3 separate regions of the Homo sapiens genome follow, and all the other regions are linked to region 3. The links are contacts of gene promoters, found by promoter capture Hi-C in blood cells and fetal thymus (Javierre and others, 2016). All regions are on one chromosome and are shown on one strand. The core of a region is centred on a gene start or on the middle of the fragment in contact, and the rest is flanking DNA. Distances in the headings are between cores, read along the strand shown. Region 1 holds the start of SCFD2 (sec1 family domain containing 2). Region 2 holds the start of REST (RE1 silencing transcription factor). Region 3 holds the start of COX18 (cytochrome c oxidase assembly factor COX18).

The links. The method cuts DNA at HindIII sites, captures the fragments that hold promoters and counts their contacts. A CHiCAGO score of 5 or more calls a contact.
Region 1: the fragment with the promoter of SCFD2 here is called in contact with the fragment with the promoter of COX18 in region 3 in 1 of 17 cell types (monocytes); the score reaches 6.5 in monocytes.
Region 2: a contact is called between the fragment with the promoter of REST here and the fragment with the promoter of COX18 in region 3, in 1 of 17 cell types (total B cells). The highest score is 5.5, in total B cells.

What each region holds. Positions count from the first base shown.
Region 1 is chr4:53,364,809-53,367,770 of GRCh38, reverse strand. It overlaps SCFD2 (sec1 family domain containing 2), which reads left to right and starts at 1,710. Exons shown (of 9, transcript NM_152540.4): 1 at 1,710-2,667. The coding sequence starts at 1,830. RefSeq lists enhancers at 1,745-1,794, 1,815-2,014, 2,235-2,284. The HindIII fragment of the contact is 6,997 bases long and covers 1,030-2,962 here.
Region 2 is chr4:56,906,008-56,909,195 of GRCh38, reverse strand. REST (RE1 silencing transcription factor) reads right to left here and starts at 1,296. Exons shown (of 4, transcript NM_005612.5): 1 at 983-1,296. RefSeq lists silencers at 70-919, 1,030-1,419, 1,519-1,813 and an enhancer at 910-1,839. The HindIII fragment of the contact is 2,443 bases long and covers 1-1,751 here.
Region 3 is chr4:73,067,928-73,071,042 of GRCh38, reverse strand. It overlaps COX18 (cytochrome c oxidase assembly factor COX18), which reads left to right and starts at 1,327. Exons shown (of 6, transcript NM_001297732.2): 1 at 1,327-1,726; 2 at 2,914-3,014. The coding sequence starts at 1,394. LOC112268467 (a long non-coding RNA gene) reads right to left here and starts at 1,097. Exons shown (of 2, transcript XR_002959797.2): 1 at 1,014-1,097. RefSeq lists enhancers at 976-1,492, 1,039-1,558, 1,493-2,008. The HindIII fragment of the contact is 3,732 bases long and covers 585-3,115 here.

The DNA.
Region 1 (2,962 bases), core at 461-2,960, about 20 Mb after region 3:
AAAAGTATTTGCTTCTGTAACATTTTATTGCACTTGTTTTACATGTGTGGGTCCCTTTATTTCATCATAATTATTTTGAAATCAGGGCTGTGGTTTAGTTTTCTTTATATCCTTAAAACCCAGACAGTGTTTGGAATACTGTACGTATTTATTAAAAATTGGCTGGATATATTATTATGTGGAATTTTTTTTTTTTTTGAGACAGAGTCTCGCTCTGTCGCCCAGGCTGGAGTGCAGTGGTGCCATCTTGGCTCACTGCAACCTCTCCCTCCTGGGTTCAAGTGATTCTCCTGCCTCAACCTCCCGAGTAGCTGGGATTACAGGTACCTGCCACCATGTCCAGCTATTTTTTGTACTTTTAGTAGAGACGGAGCTTCACCATGTTGGCCAAGCTGGTCTTGAGCCCCTGACCTCAGGTGATCTGCCCACCTCGGCCTCCCAAAGTGTTGGGATTACAGGCATGAGCCACCGCGCCTGGCCATGGATATTAATTGAACATTCATTCAACGAACATTTATTGAACACCTGTTATAAGTGTTGGGGATACCAAGCATCTAGTGCATAATTTAGCAAAACAGATAGTTTAAAGAAAATAGTGTTAATACTTACCCCATGATATGGCAAGTACTTAGCGAATGTATCAATTGAGTGGTTTGATAGGTGGGGGAAGTGAGAGGTGATAGGGTGATAGTGGTGGTGAGTTAGAAAAAGTCTCTCACAGGCAGTACTGTTGGAATGATTATTTTCGGTAAGTTTACCAGGTAAATTCTTTGTGGATTAGGTAATGAATTTTATTAACCATTGCATCTTTGAAGCTTAGCACAGAGATTATACTTAGTAATGTAAGTATATTGGTGGAACAAACAGAACCCATAAAACATTTTGGGTTCAGCCTATTGACTTCATTGTATCGGTACAATTTTTCTCCATGTTGGGAATAGCTGGAGAGAAATTGAGAAATCAAGAAGGATGTTGATGCTTTTTAAAGAGTGTGGATGTATCCTATAGGCAACTGGGCTAGGAGAAGCTTTTAAGCAGGAAAGTTGTAGGACCAACTTTGTTTATTAGGAAGAAAATAGAATTGGAGGGTAAAGAGATCAAAAGTCAGAAAATGTTGGGAGATCATTGCCTGGGTGAGCGATGATGTTGGGTTTTTGTGACAGCAAAAATGGAGAGGAAGGGCTGAATTCTGAGAGTTTTTAAGCCTATAAGATGTAGTGACGATGAGATGAGGGAGGAAAGATGGAGAAAGTGAAAATGAGAACAACAGGGTTTGTTATGAGGCTTGTGGGCGATAACGTATGTGACAGCAATCTATAAACCCAAAATATTGCACACGGTTGTTTTTATTATCTTTTTCTAGTTGCTCTGAGTTTAGATTGAGAAGGTGGCTGTACTTTTGGAGACGTGTTCATATCTAAGGAAGATACCAAATTTCGGATTAGGTTTTTATTTCGGAGACTTTTCAAGGAACATGAGAAGATTATCTGAGAAGATTATCTGCGCAGACAGGCCGAGCGACGGAAAGAACTCAGTTCAGCTCCATCTCAGGAAACACCTGATCTCCACGAGCTTTTGAGGAAGCCCGGAGCCACAGAGCCCCACCCACTTCTTTCCCGACCGCGCCATCCTTCCTCACTCCCGGCCTCCTCTCTAGCCAATCACCGCTCAGTTTAACGTCATCACCGAGCGCCATCAGGGAGCGTGTCAGAGGCCGACCACGTGTACTGTGGAGACTGTCAAAGTCTCCCGGAGCCCAATTTCCGGAAGCGGTGAGTTCTGAAAGAAGTTCCTGCACCGTAGTTTCCCAAGTCTGCGAATCCCCAACCATGAGCGCCTCGGGCGTACTGTCCTTTACCCAGCAAGGATGGGAGCAGGTGCTGGCCAAAGTGAAACGGGCTGTGGTTTACCTGGACGCCGCCTGCGCCGAGAGCCTGCACTGGGGCTGCGGATCCACCCGTCTCCTGGAGGCGGTGGGGGGTCCTGACTGTCACCTGCGAGAGTTCGAGCCCGACGCAATTGGTGGTGGAGCCAAGCAGCCCAAGGCAGTGTTTGTGCTGAGCTGCCTGCTGAAAGGCCGGACCGTGGAGATCCTACGGGACATCATCTGCCGCAGTCACTTCCAGTATTGTGTGGTGGTCACAACCGTGAGCCACGCTGTCCACCTCACAGCTAATCATGTCCCAGCGGCGGCAGCGGCCGAGATGGAGGGGCAGCAGCCGGTGTTCGAGCAGCTGGAGGAGAAGCTGTGTGAATGGATGGGCAACATGAACTACACGGCCGAGGTGTTCCATGTCCCGTTATTGCTTGCCCCTGTTGCTCCCCACTTTGCCTTGACTCCAGCTTTTGCATCCCTTTTCCCACTGCTACCCCAGGATGTGCACCTCCTTAATAGCGCCCGACCGGACAAGAGGAAGCTGGGAAGCCTGGGTGATGTGGACTCCACTACGCTAACCCCAGAGCTGCTGCTGCAGATCAGATGCCTAGTGTCAGGCCTCAGTTCTCTGTGTGAACATTTAGGAGTACGGGAGGAGTGTTTTGCTGTAGGTTCCTTAAGTCAGGTCATCGCTGCGGATCTGGCCAATTATGCCCCTGCAAAGAACAGGAAGAAGACTGCTGCAGGCAGGGCATCAGTGGTTTTTGTGGACAGAACCCTGGATCTCACAGGTAAGTGCATTGCTCTGGAGTTCTTCATTACCATTCCCCACATTGCTGGGACTTTCATTGATTCAGCATATATTTTATTGACCTTTTATTATATATTAGATTGAGGATACAAAGATGAACTAGATGGACACGGTCTCTAATCTCACAGAGTTTATTGTCTAAAGTGGAATACAGACAGGTGAATTAGCAATTACAATAACATTTGTTAAATGCTGTAATGGGTAGAAATGTCATAAATGCCCATTGCCTTGTTAAACAACAACTTTAGCCCAAGATTATGCTGACAGGGAGGAAA
Region 2 (3,188 bases), core at 47-2,546, about 16 Mb after region 3:
ACACTCGTCCTGAGCCTTTTCCTGCGCTCTCCAACACTAAAACGGGGGAGGGGATCAAGCTCGAGGCGCTGTTTGGCCGGAACCAGTCCTCCCCGAGTCCAGGCAGCCCCCTCCCCAGCCCTAGGGCCCCCGTCCCGGGAGAGGACGGAAAGTTACCGCGCAGCCGGCGTCCGGGCTTCTCCGACCGCCCCCGGGCCCCTCCGACCGCCCCGGGGCTCGCCCAACGCCCAGGGCCGGGGAGGCTCCGCGGGCGCCCTCGCGAGGCGTCGGGCTCCGAGCGCCGGAGGGGGCCCCCACACGGGCCAGCCGCCACCCCCGCGCCCCGGAAGTTTGCGAACTTCACTCCCCCACGGCGCCCGGCAGGACGCGCGCCCCAGCCCCGCCAGCTCCAGCGGTCGGGTGGCCGGACGCGGGGGCCAGCGGCGCCGGACGGCTGAAGCGCAGAAATCGCTGTCCAGCCCCGCAGGCGGAACCGCCCGGGCCCCGGGGCTGACTCAACCCGCCCGGCCGCACTCAACGGCGCCTTCCGGCGACAGGGAGAGGCCCTGGGGGAGGGGGCCAGGAGGGCCGCGGGCCGGCGCGGGGCTGCGGTGGGACCCGGGGGCAGGAGGAGGAAGCAGAGGAAGTTTCAGGACTACGGGCCCGAGCAGCTCCGCTCCTTGGCCTCAAAGGACCTGACTCGGTGGAGCGTCCGGGCCAGCGCGGAGGCGGCGTCCCAGCCTCCAGTGGGGAGGGGGTCCAGGCGACGCGCTGCTCCCAACAAACGCCCCCAGCCCCCGGGCGGCTGCTGTGTAACCCGATCCTGCTCGGCCGCCAGCCCCCGCCCGGCGGGGCCGCCGCCGCCGGAGCCACAGTATCTGCAAATCAGCCCTGGACAGCGCCTGACTCCGCGTCCTTCCGCGCCCTCCCCGTCCCGCCACTGCCGCCGCCCGGGCGGCCCTCCCCCACCCTGACCGAGCCCCCAGCCCAGCGCCCCACTTACCGGCCTTCCTCGGTGAGGAGGGGCGGGCGACCCTGAGTCGCCGCTCCTTCTCCGACTACTTTTCTTTGTTGCTGGAGTTTCGGGGGAGAGGTGGGGGAGGGTGGTAAAGTTGGGTGCTGGGGCCGTCGTGGACCAAGAAGGCCCAGGAGTGGGGCTGCAGAGGGTGCTCAGGCCTCCGGGCCTCGCCCTGCCGTCTCGGCTGCGGCAGCCGCCGCCAGGGTCTGGGGCCCCGGGCCTCGGCGGCGCTCGCTCCGCTGCTGCGCCGCGAGCTCGCGGCAGCCGCACATTCCAACACAGGACGCTGCGCCGCGCACCCAGTCCGCGCCGCCGCCGCCGCCACCGCCCGCGGGACACGCCCCCTCCGACGCCCGCGCGCGCCCGCGAGACACGCCCCCTCCGACGCCCGCGCGCGTGGCCGCTAGGCGCGCCCCGCCCCTCTACCAAGCAAGGAGTGCCCCAGTCTCCAGCTCGCCTGGGGGCGCGTCTAGGGGGAGCCGCCCGTAATCCTCCCGGCCCCTCACTCCTGCCCTTAGGTCAGAAAAGAGGCGGGCCCCACTCCCTTTCTCGATTTCTATTACAAACAAACAACAAAAGTTCCCCCCAGCCCTGGCGTGCATGCATGAGAATAGAGCTGTTAAAAGAAGAATCCGCAGGCTTTGACGGGTCTCTTTAGAGCTATTGTCACCGGCCTCTCAAGTCTAAAGCGCTCCAAGATACCCTTCAGATCTCTTCAAGTCTCCACCCATAGCTGTCCTTGACTAATTAAGCTTCGTTTTAAGCGTCTGCGGTAAAAAAAAAAAAAAAAAAAAAAAGTCTTCCAAATTTCAAACTACCGGAGGGGGAATGCAGTCAGTTTGGGAGAAGTGAGAAGAAAACGTTTCAGGAAGGAGGTTATGGACTCAGAAAGCGTGAGCGTGAGGACTGAGGGGACAGATCCCTAGACGTGGCAGGTAGCAGGTCATTGCTGAGCCCGGAAAGCACGACTGCAGGGGAGGAATTACCCTCAGATGACAGAAGAAAAGGTGGTGAGGACGGGGAGGCTGCCTGGGGCCACGGTGTGTCGGAGTAACCGGGCTCACGTCTATGAAGCGGGATAACCAAGCGGAATGCCTAGCCCATAGTCATGTGCTAACAAAAACAAAAACAACAAAAAAGAACAGAGAGAGAGTAATTCCACCCCCTTTCACACCTGAAAGAGCTTCTCAGTCTGCCTTTGATACCTTCCTAAACGTCAGTCGTAAGTCACACCTGTCCTCAGAAGCATAGTGGCTCCCCATGACTACAAGCTTAAAGCTTAAACCCCTTAGTGTGGCGTTCAAGCCCCTACTTAACTTGACCTAGATAAGTCTGACTATTGCTTGGTATTACAACATAAGTAGCAAGTGCTATGGGGGTTTGCCAGTAGGAAGATGGATCCCAAGAGGTTCTAGAAACTTTTCACAGTAGATGTATTCAGTCTGACCTTGGAGAATGAGGAAAACTTCAACAGGTGGAAAGTAGGGCAAGGAACACTCTACACAGTGAAAAGGGCAAGCTCAAAATCCCAAAGCAGTTGTTAAGACATCCCAGCTTCTCCTCAGGGTACCTCACTTCCTTCTCTTTGAAGTTCCTTTATTTGTTTCTCTTAGGGCAGGGCTTCCAGACTCTTCATTTCCTGGTATACCCACGTAGGACCTCTGTTTCCCTCTATCTGGACAATATATTACTAATTAATGCAGTCTCCGATGCAAGATGAAATGAAGACCCTAAGGTGCTCGACCACCAAAAGTTTCAATGAGGCAATTTCAAATGTAACACCTCTCCATGAATCAAACCTGAAAAGTATTCATTTTCATTGAACCAAAGAGACAGGAAGGAAGGGAGGGAGGGAGGGAGGAAAGGAAGATCGACATTTTTAGGACTGGTACAAACTTTTCTATATATATTTTATTTGTTTAACTAAAATCAAGTTTGAGGTCACATGGCTTTTTTAGATGCTGTAGCCCAGGGTACAATTCAGGCCTCTACCAAGGTTGTCAAAGACATAAACTTGTTTTCTTTCCCTTTTTTAGGTCCAAAAAGGCAAAAATGAAATGTCTCTTGTTAAACTTACTAAATGTCCTTCATTTCCTCAATCTGACTGCTTACTGGAAATGTCTTATTAATTGCAAATTTATTCCCACATATTGTGATGCAAATAGAAGAATGGCGAATGGGCAGCTGCATT
Region 3 (3,115 bases), core at 78-2,577:
TGCTGGGATTACAGGCGTGATCCACTGTGTCTAGCAAAAATAACTTTAAAATTCTGTTCAGATTATGAACAGCTGAACAGTAGTCAGTAGCAACTGATGGCTTTTTTGTTAGCTTAATAAATGGATAAAGAAATAGATTGGTAGGTTTTTCTTTTAGAAAAAGTTTATATATAGTGTGTGTTGTGCTGTGTGTTTAAACACATTTAAAAATTCATGTATAGATTTATCAGTCAGTTTGGAAAGCAGATGAATTCCAGAATCCTGAGAAAGTTATCGTAGGGTACCCTTGGTTAGGTGCACAGTGAAGGGCAAACAATAGCTGGCGTTTGACATTACCCAACATTGTTGGAGGCTTCTTTTCCTAAGTAAGTAAATAAATAAATAAATAAAAATCAAGGTTTACTCCTCACAACATATTTTAGTCTGTAGTCTAGGGGTGACCCTTCGGTGAGGAAACTCCTCCACAACATTCCATTTTGTTGTTTCCAGGAACACAAAAGTTAAAACTATATAGTCCATGTAGATTCAACGTATTCCTTTAAACCAGAAGACAGCCAGTGCTGCTGTTCAGGCTCTTTAAAGCTTATATAGGATACAAGTAAACTCAAGGAATTCACCGTACTGCCAGTGATAGTTTCCCTTAAATAAAGAGATGATACTTTTACTATAAGATTTTTGCTGCTATTTATCATGGAAGACAAAACACCGAAGAAATTCAGTTTGCAGTTGGTGGTCCAAATACTAACTGGAACAGATGGGCCAATTAAATCTACAAGAGACTGAACTATCCCTCGTGCTTAACACTCAGAGTCAGCAAGAAACATGCGTCTCTCTACAAGCAGGTACTTTAGCAACGTGTGACTCTTGAGTATGATAATCTATCGTAATCGCTAACGGAAGCAATCAGGTGCACGTAAAGAGGTTGGGGATCAGCTTCTGGTCACAAAAAACCGAGCAAGGATAATTCCACTACAAATGACTATTAGCTTTAGTGAAAAAGAATGGTAAGTTACACGGTGTAGATGAACTTTACAAGGCGAGAGCTCCCTAAAGAACACCCAGCCTGGCGGAGGGCAGCAGGCTCCACCCATGTCTCTGCAGTTTTGGTCCGGCCTCGGACTAACTACACCCTAGCAGCGGGAAACTTTCGCGTGTGCGCAGTAGGCCTGTCCAGTGCCGCGTGGGAAAGGCGGGACTTTCCTATCTCTTGCGTCACATCCACTGCGACGCAAGACGTCACCGGCTTGACTGGGAAGGTCAATCGCGGCTGCAGGCAGGCGCGCATGCGCTTTATGCCCGCTGTTGCTGGCGCGTGCGCGTATCAGCCTTGGCTGGCCGGTGTATGTCCGCTGGATTGTGAGGCCCGGGATCTGGGCTCCGCCGTGGTGCAGAAATGCTGTGCCGGCTCGGCGGTCGGTGGCTGCGGCCGCTCCCTGCCCTGCAGCTTTGGGCTAGGGACCTGCCGCTTGCGCCGGTTCCTACGAGCGGCGCCAAGCGCCCCACTCTCCCAGTGTGGGCAGTGGCACCAGTCTCTGCAGTACATGCGAACGGCTGGTACGAGGCCCTGGCCGCGTCTTCGCCGGTGCGGGTTGCGGAGGAAGTACTGCTCGGCGTGCACGCCGCCACGGGCCTGCCCTGGTGGGGCAGCATTCTGCTCTCCACCGTGGCCTTACGGGGTGCTGTCACGCTGCCTTTGGCAGCCTACCAGCACTACATCCTGGCCAAGGTGAGGGGCGCCGAGCCGTGCGCGTACCCTGCGCTGCAACCCCTGCGGCGGAGGAAGGCCGACATTCACTCAGGGTTTTCGATCGCACGATGTTGCCTTCTGCAGTGCTTAGTGTTTAATCATCGTGACCATTTCATTGTGACCATTTTAGCGTTAAAAAAAATTGAACTAGCATTAGGTGTGTTAAATAAGATACTTTGTGACACGTGTACCTGTCATTTCTTTTGTCTTACTGGATTTGTGCTCCAAGCACAAGTGGTTACTATACTTGCTCTCGGGGAACGGAGACAAAGAAATCAGTCGCAGAAGAAATTGTGTTGGCGAAACCTACAAAATTTATGTCTTAAAAGTTTTAATAGCCAGTATGTCTGCAGTGTCTTTCGTCCCAAAGTATTCCAGCTGGTCTTTCTTATTAGGAAGAAACTACTAGACTAACAGTTTGCGAACTTGTTTCCTCTCCAGACCCGACTAAGACTGTGTCTGGTTGGTCGCAGTTACTTGACCTTTTAATGCTGAATCCTTTTTTCTGAGGAATCAGGCTAGCAGTACCTTCCTTGCCTACTTCACAGCGTTATCAGAGCAAGTCAGATAATACGGGTTAAAGTGCTTGATTATTCAAATGGGATATTTCAAAAATAGTGGCTTTCTTGTTTTCAGGTTGTGAGCATGGGGAAAAAAAACCGGAAACAAAACAGGAACGGAATCAGCAGCAACATTAAGGCAGTGAGCCATTTTACAGGAAGAATGAGCACAGGGCAGGAATAAATGCTATTTTTACTTTTGATTTGTGGCTATCACAGTGTATTAAAGGTTCTTAACAAACTGCTGTTTTCTCCGCTTACGTTACTAGGAAATGTAGAGATGGAACAGTAAAGCCCAGGGTGCAGTTCTTATCTAATATTTGTAACCCTGTGAAGTAGGTGCTGTTATATATTTTATATGTGAGGGAACATGATTTTAGAGGTTAAGTTACTTGCACAGGATCACATGGATAAGTATGCATTGTGAATTTGGTTGTGACTGAGGACATTTTAAGCAAATTAACATCTTGTGCTTAGAATTAAGATTTCTTGATATGATCAGTAAACTACATTTTTAAATGACTCGAGGGAATAATGTGAAAGATTATGAGTCATTATGAATAAAGATCCTTTATGTGCTCATAACAAAACCTATTTTTTAGCTAGGTGGAAAATTTGCAGCCAGAAATAAAAACTATTGCCAGGCATCTTAACCAAGAAGTTGCAGTTCGTGCAAATCAGTTGGGGTGGTCCAAAAGAGATGCCAGGTAAGCTAATTATATCCACGTAAGACCATACGCACACATACACACACACACACACACACACACACACACACACATACATAAATTGTGATGTTAATTATAAG